Regions from separate parts of the Homo sapiens genome. Here region 1 is linked to region 2. Evidence: promoter capture Hi-C in 16 types of primary human blood cells and fetal thymus (Javierre and others, 2016). All regions are on one chromosome and are shown on one strand. The core of a region is centred on a gene start or on the middle of the fragment in contact, and the rest is flanking DNA. Distances in the headings are between cores, read along the strand shown.

Region 1 (6,602 bases), core at 3,907-6,406, 6.7 Mb before region 2:
TTCCAATGACACCTGAAAATGTGAAGAATCTCACACAGGAATGCACAGTGTAAAATTTTATCTGATACATTAGCTCTATACACAGTCAAAGCTCTCTCATGAACAAATCCGTCTTTTACTTGTCAAATGAAAACATTATCCAAGGCCAGGCGCAGTGGCTCATGCCTACTTCCCAGCACTTTGGGAGGCAATGGCAGGAGGATCACAAGGTCAGGAGATCGAGACCATCCTGGCTAACACAGTGAAAGCCCGTCTCTACTAAAAATACAAAAAATTAGCCAGGCCTGGTGGTACGCGCCTATAGTCCCAGCTACTCAGGAGGCTAAGGCAGCAGAATTGCTTGAACTCAGAGGCAAAGGTTGCAGTAAGCTGAGATCACACCCTTGCACTTCAGCCTGGGCAACAAGAGCGAAACTCTGTCTCAAAAAACAAAAAACCGAAAACATTATCCAGTATAGTTTAGAGGCTTTTTACTCTCCAACTCTGCCTATCGCACCTAAAATCCCAGTGAATCTTCATCAGAATATTTTATTCATTCCTGTTTCTTAAAATGTTTCCTCTGCATTTGCCTAATTCCTGAAGCACATGCACTTCAGCTCTCACGGAAAATTGCTCTATATTTGTCACCATATTTTCTGAATCTATTAATTATACACATTGAGAGAGAGTGGAGTATTGGTAGATAATACACACTGAGAGGGAGTGGAGCATTGGTAGACATACATGCAGATTAGAAAAGAAAGTCACATTGAGCTTCATTATCCTACAATGAACTTATATTTCCTCAGTTTCAAAATAACGTAAAAACCAAAGTTATCACTCTCCTTTCCTCAAACTTTGACTAAAACGTCACCTTTTAGGTAAGAAACATTTAGGTTTTTTGTTTACCATTTAAAGTTCAGTGAATCACTACTATAATGGGGCTGCCTCCAAAACAATCAATCTTAGGCTACATTAATTTAGATGTAATATCTAAAATGAGTTGATTGCTAATTGAATATAGTGAATGGAAATTATAAGAAGGTAGATTTGGGTGAAACATAACACAAGAATAACGCGAGTTGTCCAAATATCAAATAGAGCTACTTAACAAGTAGCCAGTCACTACAGGTATTCCAGAGACTAACTGAATGGTTTGGCACAAACATAGTAGAGTCCATACATCCAAAAAAGTAAGATTAGGCCATTCCAACACTAAGATCCTAAAAGTCTGTTAACAAGAAGCAGGACTTTTGACTTCTCCTCCAATACTCATCTCACACCTTCCTATCTGCAATGATTGAAACCCTATGCATTTATCTGGGCCCAGCAGAAATCCTGTCCCCTTGAAAATCTTTCTACTCCTACTGAATTCCTCAACAGAATATAACTCTTCTCTATTAACTCTTAAAGCACTTTTGGCCTTTATCATAGCAGTTTATTGATCATGCTCTGCCCTAAATTACTAACTGTACACCTGTCTTCATCTTCTATTCCCCTCTCAAATATTATAACTCAGCTCTCCTTTGAATGCAATTCTCTGGAAACATCACAATTCTTCTCAATAATCGAATGACTTCTCAATCCTCCACCCATCTGCATTATCAATGTTGACTACCTCCTCCTAACTCTTCTAGAGTTCTATAAGGCAAATTTTCCTTCTCATCCAAACGCAGAATTTCTCAAGGTTCTGTCTTCTAACCTGGCAATTTCAGCTTCTGGTCTCATGTCTACCTAAACGTGTATCTAGTCTATACCATAAGTTCAAATTTTACATTTGTCACCACATACTGAACACCTAGACATGACCCACATATGTCCCAATACACGCATGCACCAAAGAAAGCTATTTCCTTATTTCTGTTAAAAGTGTCATAATCTTCTCAACTTGAAAGCTCAGTCGTGACTTTCTCCCCTTTAGCTTTGCCACTTAAACTGTGAAATCCTTACAATTCAGAAGGTGGAATTTGTGCCCTCCTTTTCACTCCCACTGTTCAGACCTTTTATTCTTCAAAAGTCTTTCAAGCCCCTGTATCACGTGTAGTATATACTGTACTGAGTAAAATCCAAACACCTGCATTCAGTTTGGCATCTAAGGCCCTACACAGAAATCCAGTCTGACATTCAATGTCATAACCAACCTTTCAAATTTATCTCCTACTATACTTTCTCATCCCTGTATCAAATTCTATACAAATATTTTAATCACCTAATATTATTCTCTGCAATTTCACTCTCTGCGCCTTTGTCTTACTTCATTCATTCCCATCCACAAGCTGAGTCAATGGGTTATACAAAATAAATTCATTTCAACATTTATTTTATGGCTACTATGTATGTACCAGAAACTACAAAAGGAAAAAGAGGCCGGGTGCAGTGGCTCACGCCTGTAATTCTAGCACTTCGGGAGGCCGAGATGGGTGGATCACCTGAGGTCAGGAGTTCGAGACCAGCCTGACCAACATGGCAAAACCCATCTCTACTAAAAACACAAAAAAGTTAGCCGTGTGCAGTGGCGGGCGCCTGTAATCCCAGCTACTCAGGAGGCTGAAGCAGGAGAATCGCTTGAACCCGGGGGCGGAGGTTGCAGTGAGCTGAGTTGTAAGTACTTGGTATTAGTTATTATAAAAAGAATAAGACCTCTAGTAATAGGAGGCAGTTCTCTTTACCAGATACTGTTACCAAAGGTTATGTGGGTGCTAAGACACAGCTTATCTCCACTATAGGATACTTACCCCTTTCCCCTCTGGAGTCCCTCACTCATAGCTGGGCTCAAACTAGTCAGGTTTATTTATTTTAATTGAACCATGGACTATATCCATTTCCAACAGCTAAATGCATATTAATACTGGAACTTTCTGAAATTCCAGATGGTTTTTGTTTGAAGTAACTTAAACAATCTAAGGAACACTATACCTTTTTAAAGAAATGACCTTCAATCTTTTGTGGTACACCATTGAATGAAAGCTTCACAAAGAAGATCTAAGAATCATAGTGGTACAAATAAATAATAAAAGTAAGTTATGGATTAAATCTCTTATTCAGGCTCCAAAAGGTGTTTTTGTTTTCTGTCCTTCTCAGAAGTTGAGGGAGGCTAGTTTTAAAATTCAGAAGCTATTAAAAGTGACCAAGCAGTAAGAAATGGAAATGCTTGCTGTCCACAAAAATAAAGCATGTATTTATACTATGTTTTAAAGTTTAACAAGTAACCTACTATTTTCTTTTGTCTTTAAAATAGATAGGGCATTATCTTCATTTACAGAAAAGGATGTTTAGAGAGCCTAAGGAAAGGTGTTTGGGGTTCCTCAGTTACAGTAAAAAGAAAGAGGATTTGAAATCAGGTCTCCTGACTCCTGACTCAACTGATGTTTTCATTACACTTTGGTTAGGAACAACCGCTTTGGAAGAGCAGCCAGCTCTTCCAACAATACAAAAAATTAATTTTAAACAAGCAATTGTTAGCTTATGTGAAACTGTTGAGAAGAGTGAAAAGCAAAGGAATACAGCAGGACAGCAACAGAAAATCCAAGAATAATTTTCAATATACCTATGGTTTCAAGATAGGGTAAAATACTTGGAAATTAGCAGATAAAAGTAAGCAGAAACACGACAGTCAAGAAACTAATTCTATTGCTTCTGAAGGTAGGCCAGGACCTTCCTGAAGGTGGGTGGACCAATTTATTCTATCGGATATAAAACAAGTGTCTACCAGTGGAGAGTAACTAGGTCATGTTTGTCCATTAAATTCTACTGAATTTAAGTTCAGACGCAACACTTTAGTTTGTGCCTTTCAAAATCAACATTGAAAAGGAGTCATTCACTGTCTCCATATTCACTCAAAATATGTGGAAAGTCTTTTTAAAGCAATCTAGGGGGAAAATGTTCAATCCTAATTATGCGTAATAAACAGCGATAATTTTGCAGGATAAGGAGGGAAGTTTTCAGAATCTAAAGACACAGTGCCAACACTTTCTTCAAACCAGGAGTTGCCTGCTGACAAATCAACTGCTCAGCTGCTAACTGAACAGTTAAGTTAGTTACTCTACGAAATGGTCAAATAATGTGTTTTCTTCTTTACCTTCTAATTTTTATCCCCATCCATCCCACAAGCATTCTGGTTCACTCTTGATGTTTTTTCACTATTACTAATATTTCGACCCTGAATATCAATCTGAACTATGACAGCTCTTAGTAAGAAATTCATTCTAGGTCCTTATTATTCCTACAATTCCTTGACTGCTTTTCAGAATTAGTTTGTAAAGATTAAATCATAACATAAAGGCCCATAAGAGTAATCTTAAACATTTAAGAAAAATGTTACTGCCAAAGAAAGGATAATTCAATCCTGAGGTTCAAACTCATCGTACCGTTTATCTCCTAAGACCAGGAATCTTGGATTATCAAAAAGACCACTGGATGCTAACAGGGCCAAAAGTTTACTTAGAAACTTGGTTCACATGCCTAAGGCTATATTAACTGCCAAATATGGAGCTAGAGAAAAATTGCCATCATCTCCCACTCTAGTACACCGGGGCTCTCTTAACGACAGTTAATGTTTCCTAGATCCAGGTACCTGCAACACTAACGTTTGAAAGACCAGAACAAGGTACAGAGCCTTGAACCTAAAACCACAGTATCTTAATCCAAGTTAATATCCCACAACAATCATACAGGGAGAACAGGACTTTACTATTCCAGCTAAAAGTGCAAGTGCCTTTTTTTTGTTGTTGTTATGAAGGAAAAGGCACTCTCCTCCCACCCCCCAAATCCGTTAGAACATTAAGTATGTCTTGGGGAAAAAAGCTGATCTATGCAGGAAATTATAGACGAAAATCTATATTCGCCCCAAAGCGGCAAAGGGCCATCTTAAGAAATCTGCTTTTAGAGACGCAGGAAAAATTCTATCAGATTCCACTAACAAAATCAACACAATCTAGGGAAGCTTCTGTTCCTTTCTGTCCCCCCATCCCAACAAAAGCGGGAACCCATCCCCCAAAAGCCATTCCCGAGTCAATAAGGGATCGTCTGCATAAGAGGGGGACGAAGAAGGCGCACGTTACAGTTCCAGTATCCGAACACGTTCGGATTAAACCCGCGGTGGCAGGGAGAGGGGGGTTGGTCAAACACGACGGAACACTAGGTACTGGGTAAGCGAAGCGGCGGCTGCCTTCAAACCCGGATTCTGTTTCCGTGCACAGAAATGGTGCCCGGAGGCCGCCACTTTCGCATCTGCGTCGCTTCTGCCTCCGTCGACACAACCTCTTTTCCCCTCCCCCCACGGGCGGGGTGGCGACGGCCTCTCCGCTCCGAAGGAACAAGGTACAAGAGCCGAAAACGATTCGGAAACAGGAACGGTGGGCTACCCACCCTAAAACATCCCCTCCAGAAAGCCTGCTCCCACACTTCCTGTATTAAGCTTCCATCAGCGCGCCTTCGGGAGCTGCTGCGTGCCTCCCCCCCCACTTCGCCACCTCATCCCCAATAAACCTCAACCCCACCTGTGCACTCGGAGCCCTCTGCCCGCAAGACGCTCGCGGGTCACCTCCCTTCCCAGGCGGCCTCCCACCCCTCACCTAGAGGAAAGACTGGTCTTCTCTCACGCACACACGGCACCGTAGGGAGCCGGCAAGAACAATGTCTCTGCCGCTACACCTCCGGCTCCCGGGCTCACACACCGGACGATTGCCTCGCGCCGCGGAGCGCGAATGGAATGTCCCTTTCCGACCACCACACCGACCTCCCCTCCCGGCGCCCGTACACACCTCCAGCCAACGGCGGCGGCGGGTACGTCGCGCGGAGGTCAGAAGAGTCGCTGAGGACCGGGTGCGGCGGGTTCTTATTGCTCGCCGCCCCCTTCCTCCGACAACTCGGAAGCCTCGGAAGCCGGAGAGCCGCGAGTTCGTCTGCCTCACAACCACCTCTTCCCGGGCGCCAGGCGCTGCGACGTGCGACAAGGACCACGGACGTCCCGCCCCCTTTGCCACCGCCCCCTCTTATTGTTTTACCCCTGCCGAAAGGGCCAGGGAACCCCCGAGCACAGCGTCAGCCAATCACGCATCTCCTCCAGAGCCGGACCCAACCTTCCCGTGTCCCTCTGCGGAGCACGCGCAGTACGCTGCCGCGCTCGCACACGCTCGCGCCCGGAAAGCCGGGGAACCGGAACCGGCCTAAAGCCAAGATAAGAGTCCGCTGATTTGACGTCACAAGCAGGCTGCCTTTCTCCGGTCCCGAGGCTCCAGCCTTGCCGCCCTTCTTCCTGATCGCGCAAGCGAGAGCTGGTTCGCAGCAACGCAGTGTCTTTTGTAGACTGATATTCTGGTCCTTTTTATTAATGGGAAGGAGGGAATTTAGTAATCTCTCTGAATAGGTGTCTGCAGGTTGCTGCTGTAGACGAGCTTAAAATGCAGCCGGTGATTTCAGCTGTTTGCACACTAAACTCACCTACATTGTTTACTTAACCCATCCTAGGTTTTAAGCCCCATTAAGAGGCCCTGCAGTAAAGGAAGAACATGACGTGGGCTTTACAGAGGGGGAAAAGACTATTTCTTTGTGTCCTTGTTACGAATTTAGGCATGGCTAAATATCAGTAGATACTAAAGCATTTTACATACTAAAGCTAAAAG
Region 2 (6,944 bases), core at 956-3,455:
GTCCAAAGAACAGAATTCAGCAAACGAAAACCAAAATGTTAAAGGTTTTAAGTTTCCAAATATCTAACATCTTCCTTTCTCAAATAAGCTATATACAATTCGAGTTGGTTCTGTTTAATTTTTAAAAGTTTGCTTCCCTTCCCACCACCACTCCCCCAAAACCAGCACTATCATCAAACAGCCTGACAAGAATCTGCCTAGGCTGGGCTTAATAAACCCTATATTCCAAAGTGCTTCTCCCCTCCCAACTTTCCCTCCAAATCCTGGGCTCTTTCTCAGTAAAGGAAATCGTGTTTTCTAATACTAGATTAAAGCGACATCTTGTTATATCCACCAACACCTTTCTCTTTACAGTTAAAAAAAAATTCAGACACACACACACCCCTCCCCATTACAAAAAGGAATGGAAGCGTGAACCCACGATCATCGGTCAGTAATCGGAGCTAAGAAAACTCAACCAAGAAACCTGATTTAGTCCCTCCTGCTAACTCCCGTATTATGTTCCCAATCCCAAATGCTGCATTTTAATACACTAAATGCAGATTTAGGTAGTATATACAACTGTTATTTCAATTGGAGGAAGCAAGTTAATACTAAGAAATTTGCACCAAAAAGAAAAAAAAAGTATCCCATAGCACAATACAGGATTTGTTTCTCTTAAGAGGACTACAGGCCTCCCTTAGTGGGCGGGAAACAGATATCAAGACACCAAAATAGGATCCTGGGCACCGGGAAAAAAAGGGGGCTGGGGGTTGTAAAAAATTAGGTTGCACATAAAAAGTAAGGTACAATCTGTACTAACAGTTGGGGAACCCAATAGCTGAGGGCGCGAAAAGGGTGCGCGGTTAGAATAACTCAGTGGGGTGGGGGAAGGGTAGATGCTAGGCCGGAGATAGGAACAGCTCCAGTCAAGTGCAGGCCCGATCGACTAAGAACTTAACCAGAGCCCGCGGAGCAAAACCAATGTACCAACAAGAAACTCGGAGCATTTCACCAGACCCAATTTGGTCTGCATGTCAAAATGTAGGGCCTGTATGAGTATGCCATTGTGCGATAGCGTATGGTGGAGAAAATGAGTAAATCCTTAGGCGAAACTTATTCAAAATCCCAAGAAAACAGTCGGCCTAAGGCCGACAAGGGAGAGGCAGAGGTGGACAGCCTACGCGTTCCCCAAAACATGTGCTTATAAACAATCGCATCGTTTCAGGATGGTGGAGAAGCACCAAATAAACCTTAGTAATACAAACAGAGAAGCTGTTTGTGTCTGTGTTTTTATGCCCAAGACTGTAGAAAAAGGGAAAAAGAGGGGACAGCATGGAAAGAAAAAAGGTACCCCACGACAGGCGGGAAAAAATCCTGGCGGCTAAGTCGGTGGGAGGAGACCCATGGCGAGGGAGGAAAGGAGGGCGGGCCGAGGAGCAGCATGGTGACGGCTAAAGGTGGAAACGTGTGTGATGGGGGAGGGGGGCGATAAGCAGGCAAAGGAAGAAGGAAATGAAGGTCCGGGGAACCCAACATAGAAAAAGGGAGACCAGTGCAAGGAGGCTGCATGGGGGCCCGGAGAACGGGCTGAGAGCGGGAACCAGGCCTAATGGCGGGGGAATAAAGAGGGGGAGGGGGACTAGTTGGGCCTGACTATCCTGGGATGCCCCTTACTCACCCTTCATCCTCCTCGTTCTTACTGGCGTCAATCTTCGCCCCCTCCGACTCGGCGCTGCCCCCTTCGGTGCCTCCAGACGCGGTTCCGCCCCCGGTCCCGGCTCCGCTTCCCGCCGCCGCCGCTGCCCCCTGTGTCGCCGCCACCATGGCTCCCTCCTGCTCGCCCGCCGAGCCGCCTACCGCCGCCGTTGCCGCTGCCGCCGCCCCGTCCCCGCCGAACTGCTCCTCCGACATAGTGCTAGTGTCTCCGCCGCTGCCGCCGAGACTACACCCGCCGCTGCCGCGAACCGAAACTAGCAGCAAAGTAATCCCCGCCGCTGCCGCGCGCCCGCTCTACCTCGCGAAGCACACAAGACAGGGAAGGCGCGCGCGTGGCTGCAAAGGCTCCTGCGCCTCTCCCTGGCCTGCCCCCTTCGCCTCCCACTCTCGCGCGGCGCACACTCCCGCTCTCTCCCGCTGCACTAAAAAAGAATAAGCACCAGCGGCGGCCGCTCTCGCCTCCTCCTCGCTTTAATGGCGCCGCCGCGGACCACCTAAAATGGCCGACGGAAGAACGGCGCGTCCCGGTCACGTGACGCGAGAGCGCGCCCTTCGCGCGTCCCCCCACCCCTATCCCCCTAGTTTTTTTTTTTTCCCTTTCCTCCTCGGTCCCGCCCTCTCGCTACCCTTTATACCTTCCTCTCACGCTCCGCGTTGCACAGCCTTGGGGGCCTTTAAAAGGAACCGGAAGTGTCGTGAGCTAAGACAGTCGCGCGGGGACCATCGAGAACAAGGAGTGCTGTTTCGAAGTAGCGGCTAGAGGGGCCCCCTGCCTCCGCCCCCGCCCTTCCGAGGATTCCTGGAGTCCACTCACCCCTCCCCACCACTCCAGTAGCGGCGGGAGCAGCAGCGTTAGGCCGGGGTGTGGCTGCACCTCTGCGAAGGCTGTCGTGCCCCGTGCAGCTGCGGCGTTCGGGTGGGGGAGGGGAGGCTCACACCCTGCGGCGGCTTAAGCCTGGATTTACGCACTGGAGGAGGGAATTAGCCCTGAGATGTCAGCCCTGTGCCCCTGGCGCTGTCCACCCGGACGCCCGCGGAGCGCCAGGCGCCGCAGCGGACCGCGCGCGCACTGATTGCCGCAGCTACTCTCCCTGCCGTCGCCGCCCGGGACCGGGTGACATTGAGGTTTTCGTCTATCGCCGCTGGGCCGATAGGGCTTCTTTTTAAGATTTGGCTTTCCAAGTAAGATTTTTGTTTGCCTGCTTTTCTCCTGGAATTTTTTTGTTTTTGGTCGAAGAAGCAGGTAACTTGCATATCTTAAGGAAAACATTGTTTTTGCTTTGCTTTTGTTGTTTAAAGATCCTAAAACGTACCGTGATTCCTTTACGTTACTAATAATTGGAAAGTGTGTTAAATCAAGGGTTCGCTTAATGTTCTTTAGCCTTTGTACATAGAATATATAAATGTCGTGAGTCATCTTTACGAGGTTTATGAGTTTGTGTTCGGGTTTGGCTTTTTTGTTGTGTGTGCGTGGTTTTTTTTTTTCTTTTCTTGTAACACCGTTAGGCGTTTCATTAAGGTGTATAAAAAGTAATTTTATACACCTATTAAAAATTCCCGCTGCCTCGGCTGGAGACTGGATTATTCGGGCTTTGGGATTTGCTGCTTCCAGCAGTATCCTTAGAAGAAAATGAAGCTTCTAGGTACTTCTGTAGTCAACAAATAATTATTTGCCTGTTTAATTAAAGTGTTCGGGCACGGGGGAAACAAAGACGAGTTTGCAGACTCCAGCAAAAATCTTAAGAGTTTAAGTATTTGGGCCGGGCGCGGTGGCTCACGCCTGTAATCCCAGCACTTTGGGAGGCCGAGGCGGGCGGATCACGAGGTCAGGAGTTCGAGACAAGCCTGACCAACATGGTGAAACCCCCGTGTCTACTAAAAATACAAAAATTAGCCGGGCGTGGTGGCCGGTACCTGTAATCTCAGGTACTCAGGAGGCTGAGGCAGGAGAATCGCTTGAACCCGGGAGGTGGAGATTGCAGGGAGTCGAGATCATGCCACTTGCACTCCAGCCTGGGCGACAGAGCGAGACTCCGTCTCAAAAAAAAAAAAAAAAAAAAAGTTTAGGTATTTTCCACTGCAGTTAAACGAATTTGTATTAATTGGACACTATCCAAAAATCTCAAAGGAAGATTATAAGTAAGTTTTATTAATCAAGTTAGTAGAATTTACATTACAGAATAATTAAAACTCAAGAATACAGGTCAAATTCTGAAAACGTCCTAAAAATATAATCTTACCAAACTCCCGTAATAATCAAGTCACATAAAGGTAATACCAAGAATGTTTACCGTAAAGTGGTAGTGACTCCACATTTGTCTCCACCTGCCAGAATATTAGCAAAGGATAAAGTGGATATGGTGCTCAAACCATATATTCCGGGTTAGATACAACTAAGATGATTGACTGAAGGGAAGTCTGTTTAATCTTTTCTGGCTCAAGTGACGGTAATTGTCATTTATTTTGATCTTAAGATATCATTAGACATACCCACCTTTTGGTAATAGTGACTTTTCCAAAAGGTTCATTTTGATTTCACATGTAGCTTAGGAGCTTCTGGAATTCTTAGAATTTATGTCAAAAGTTCCAGACAACCTAGGAATGATTTTAAAGCTAACACCTTTACATGCTTTATGAGGATGTATGATGTCCATATCACTGATAGTCCTTGATATTATGGCCAAGATCTCTACATCCAGGATGTGCTCCTGCATCCACACAATATTCTTCTTGGAACTCACTTAACTTCTGGCAGGCGTGGTGGCTCACGCCTGTAATCCAGCACTTTGAGAGGCCAAGTCGGGAGGATTGCTTGCCTCAAGGAGTTGGCCATCAGCCTGGGCAACGGAGTGAGACCTTGCCTCTACAAAAAGTCAGAAAATTAACCTGGCATGGTGGTTCCTGTTGTTCCAGCTACTCCTGAGGCTGAAGTGGGAGGATCACTTGAACCTGGAAGGTGGAGGCTGCAGTGAGAAAGGCAGAGTGAGACCCTGTCTCAAAAACAAACAAATGTTACTATTTATGTGAAGTCTTCCCAGGCTTCCTGAGGCAGAATTAATGATCCCTTTTCACAGCCCTTTATCTTTACCTCTGTTATTCTTCATTGTTTTCTACTAGACCATGAGTTCTTAGAAAACAGTGTCTTCTATGTATCTCTCCCTCCCTAACACACTCTCACACACACATAAACACAGCAGCAGTATATCCACACTATGTAATTGCCAGTTGAATTATTGAATGACAAAATAATAAGTATGTCCAACTTGTTAGATTAAGGGGCTTTCAAGCAAACTAGGTGTTCTTCCAGGGACTTGAAAGTCTCCTCTCCACACCATCTCATTTCATCTCTGGCATTAAAAAAAAAAAAACTTTTGGCCAGGTGCTGTGGCTCATGCCTATAATCCCAACACTTTGGTAGGCCAAGGAGGGATGATTGCTTGAGCCCAGGAATTTTTTTTTTTTTTTTTTTTTTTTTGAGACAGAGTTTCACTCTGTTGCCCAGGCTGGAGGTGCAATGGCGCGATCTCGGCTCACTCCCGGGTTGACGCCATTCTCCTTCCTGTCTCCCAAGTAGCTGGGACAACAGGCACCTGCCACCACGCCCGGCTAATTTTTTTTGTATTTTTAGTAGAGACGGGGTTTCACTGTGCTAGTCAGGACGGTCTCGATCTCCTGACCTCGTGATCCGCCCGCCTCGGCCTCCCAAAGTGCTGGGATTACAGGTGTGAGCCACCGCGCCCGGCCAAGCCAGGAATTTGAGACCAGCCCCGGCAACATAGCAAAACCTATCTCTACAAAAAATTTAAAAAATCAGTTCCTGCCCACCCAGGGACGCCTTGGGTTGTGTTTAACCCGTTTCTGTTGCCGGGTGCGGTGGCTTACGCCTCTAATCCCAACACTTTGAGAGTCCGAGGTGGGTGGATCACTTGAGGCCGGGAGTTCGAGAGCAGCCTGGGCAATGTGGTGAAACCCCATCTCTACTGAAGATACAAAAATAAGCTGGGCGTGGTGGCGCACGCCTGTAATCCTGGCTACTGGGGAGGCTGAGGCAGGAAAATTACATGAACCCACAAGGCAGAGGTTGCAGTGAGTAGAGACTGCACCACTGTACTCAAGCTGGGTGACAGAGTGAAACTATGTCTCAAAAAAAAAAAAAATTAGCTGGGTGTGGTGGCGTGAGCCTGTGGTTCCAGCTACTCAGGAGGCTGAGGTGGGAAGATTGCTTGAATCAAAAATTCAAGGCTGCAGTGAGCAGTGATGCCACTTCATTCCAGTCTGGACGACAGAGCAAGAGCCTGTTTCAAAAACAACAACAACAACGAAACGCTTCTTCAAATGACCTGGTGATGGATGTATGAAATTTCTTGAGAATGAAATGAAACTTTTTGTTACACATTCATAGGTAACAATTAATTGTTTAAGTGGCTGGAGATGCTGTATTGGACTTGCCCCAAACAGTAGAAGGAAGGAATATCCCCTGTCAATGTACAGACATGAACTATTCCATTGCTTTAGGAGATTCCCAGTGTGTTTCAGATAACACACTAAAATGCTAGATCATCATTGAATTTAGCCTTTGTAAAGCAATTATTCTCTGCAGCAAAAACTAAAGTACTTGTAAAAGGCCAAAAATGAAGTCTGTTTGAGAATTAAACTGGAATCACTTTTACCTAGAACAAGATGCATACACCTAAGCCAAGGAAGTCAGTTTTCATCTGCTAGGTGCAGTCTGCAAATGCAGCAGGAGGTTCCCTTATGTTCAAATTTTTAAAGTATTAATAGGGTATGTATGCCAGTTGGCAACCTGGAATAAACAGTGTGGAAGAAACAGCCAAAGAACCCATTTTTTTATACAAGGTACACATACTTGAGCTGCTTCTACAACCATGTTAAACAGCCTATAACCTATCTGGACCTATTTGCAGAACACCATCAGTGGGATTTAAGCATTTTGTTGGAGAGTTAGTTTGTGATTTTACGTGAAGTGACCAATTGCCCATGCAGTGAACATTCTCTGTCATATTCCTTGGTTATCAGGAAGCTTCACTTTATTCAGAAAATAAAAGCCCTATCAACTTCTGAAAAGTCGGGTTTTACTTCAGCCATAAAGTCTAATACTGTAGAGTCAGTTCTGCTTACTCATGAGGATGTCAATAGTTTCTTTTAGATACAGTTTTTTAAAACGTAGCTCAAAAAAGAATTCAGACAAAGCTGATCACACGCCTGTAGTCCCAGCTACTCAGAAG

What was found. Contacts are between HindIII fragments. The CHiCAGO score rates a contact against its expected background, and 5 or more counts as called.
Region 1: a contact is called between a fragment that was not itself captured here and the fragment with the promoter of HNRNPD in region 2, in 1 of 17 cell types (fetal thymus). The highest score is 6.0, in fetal thymus.

The regions. Positions count from the first base shown.
Region 1 is chr4:75,667,467-75,674,068 of GRCh38, forward strand. G3BP2 (G3BP stress granule assembly factor 2) reads right to left here and starts at 5,945. Exons shown (of 12, transcript NM_203505.3): 1 at 5,742-5,945. RefSeq lists enhancers at 4,825-5,802, 5,235-5,474, 5,755-6,044. The HindIII fragment of the contact is 474 bases long and covers 4,920-5,393 here.
Region 2 is chr4:82,371,786-82,378,729 of GRCh38, forward strand. It overlaps HNRNPD (heterogeneous nuclear ribonucleoprotein D), which reads right to left and starts at 2,206. Exons shown (of 9, transcript NM_031370.3): 1 at 1,661-2,206. The coding sequence starts at 1,893. HNRNPD-DT (HNRNPD divergent transcript) reads left to right here and starts at 2,783. Exons shown (of 2, transcript NR_183813.1): 1 at 2,783-2,880. RefSeq lists enhancers at 755-804, 2,165-2,334 and a silencer at 1,705-1,804. The HindIII fragment of the contact is 7,055 bases long and covers 1-3,332 here.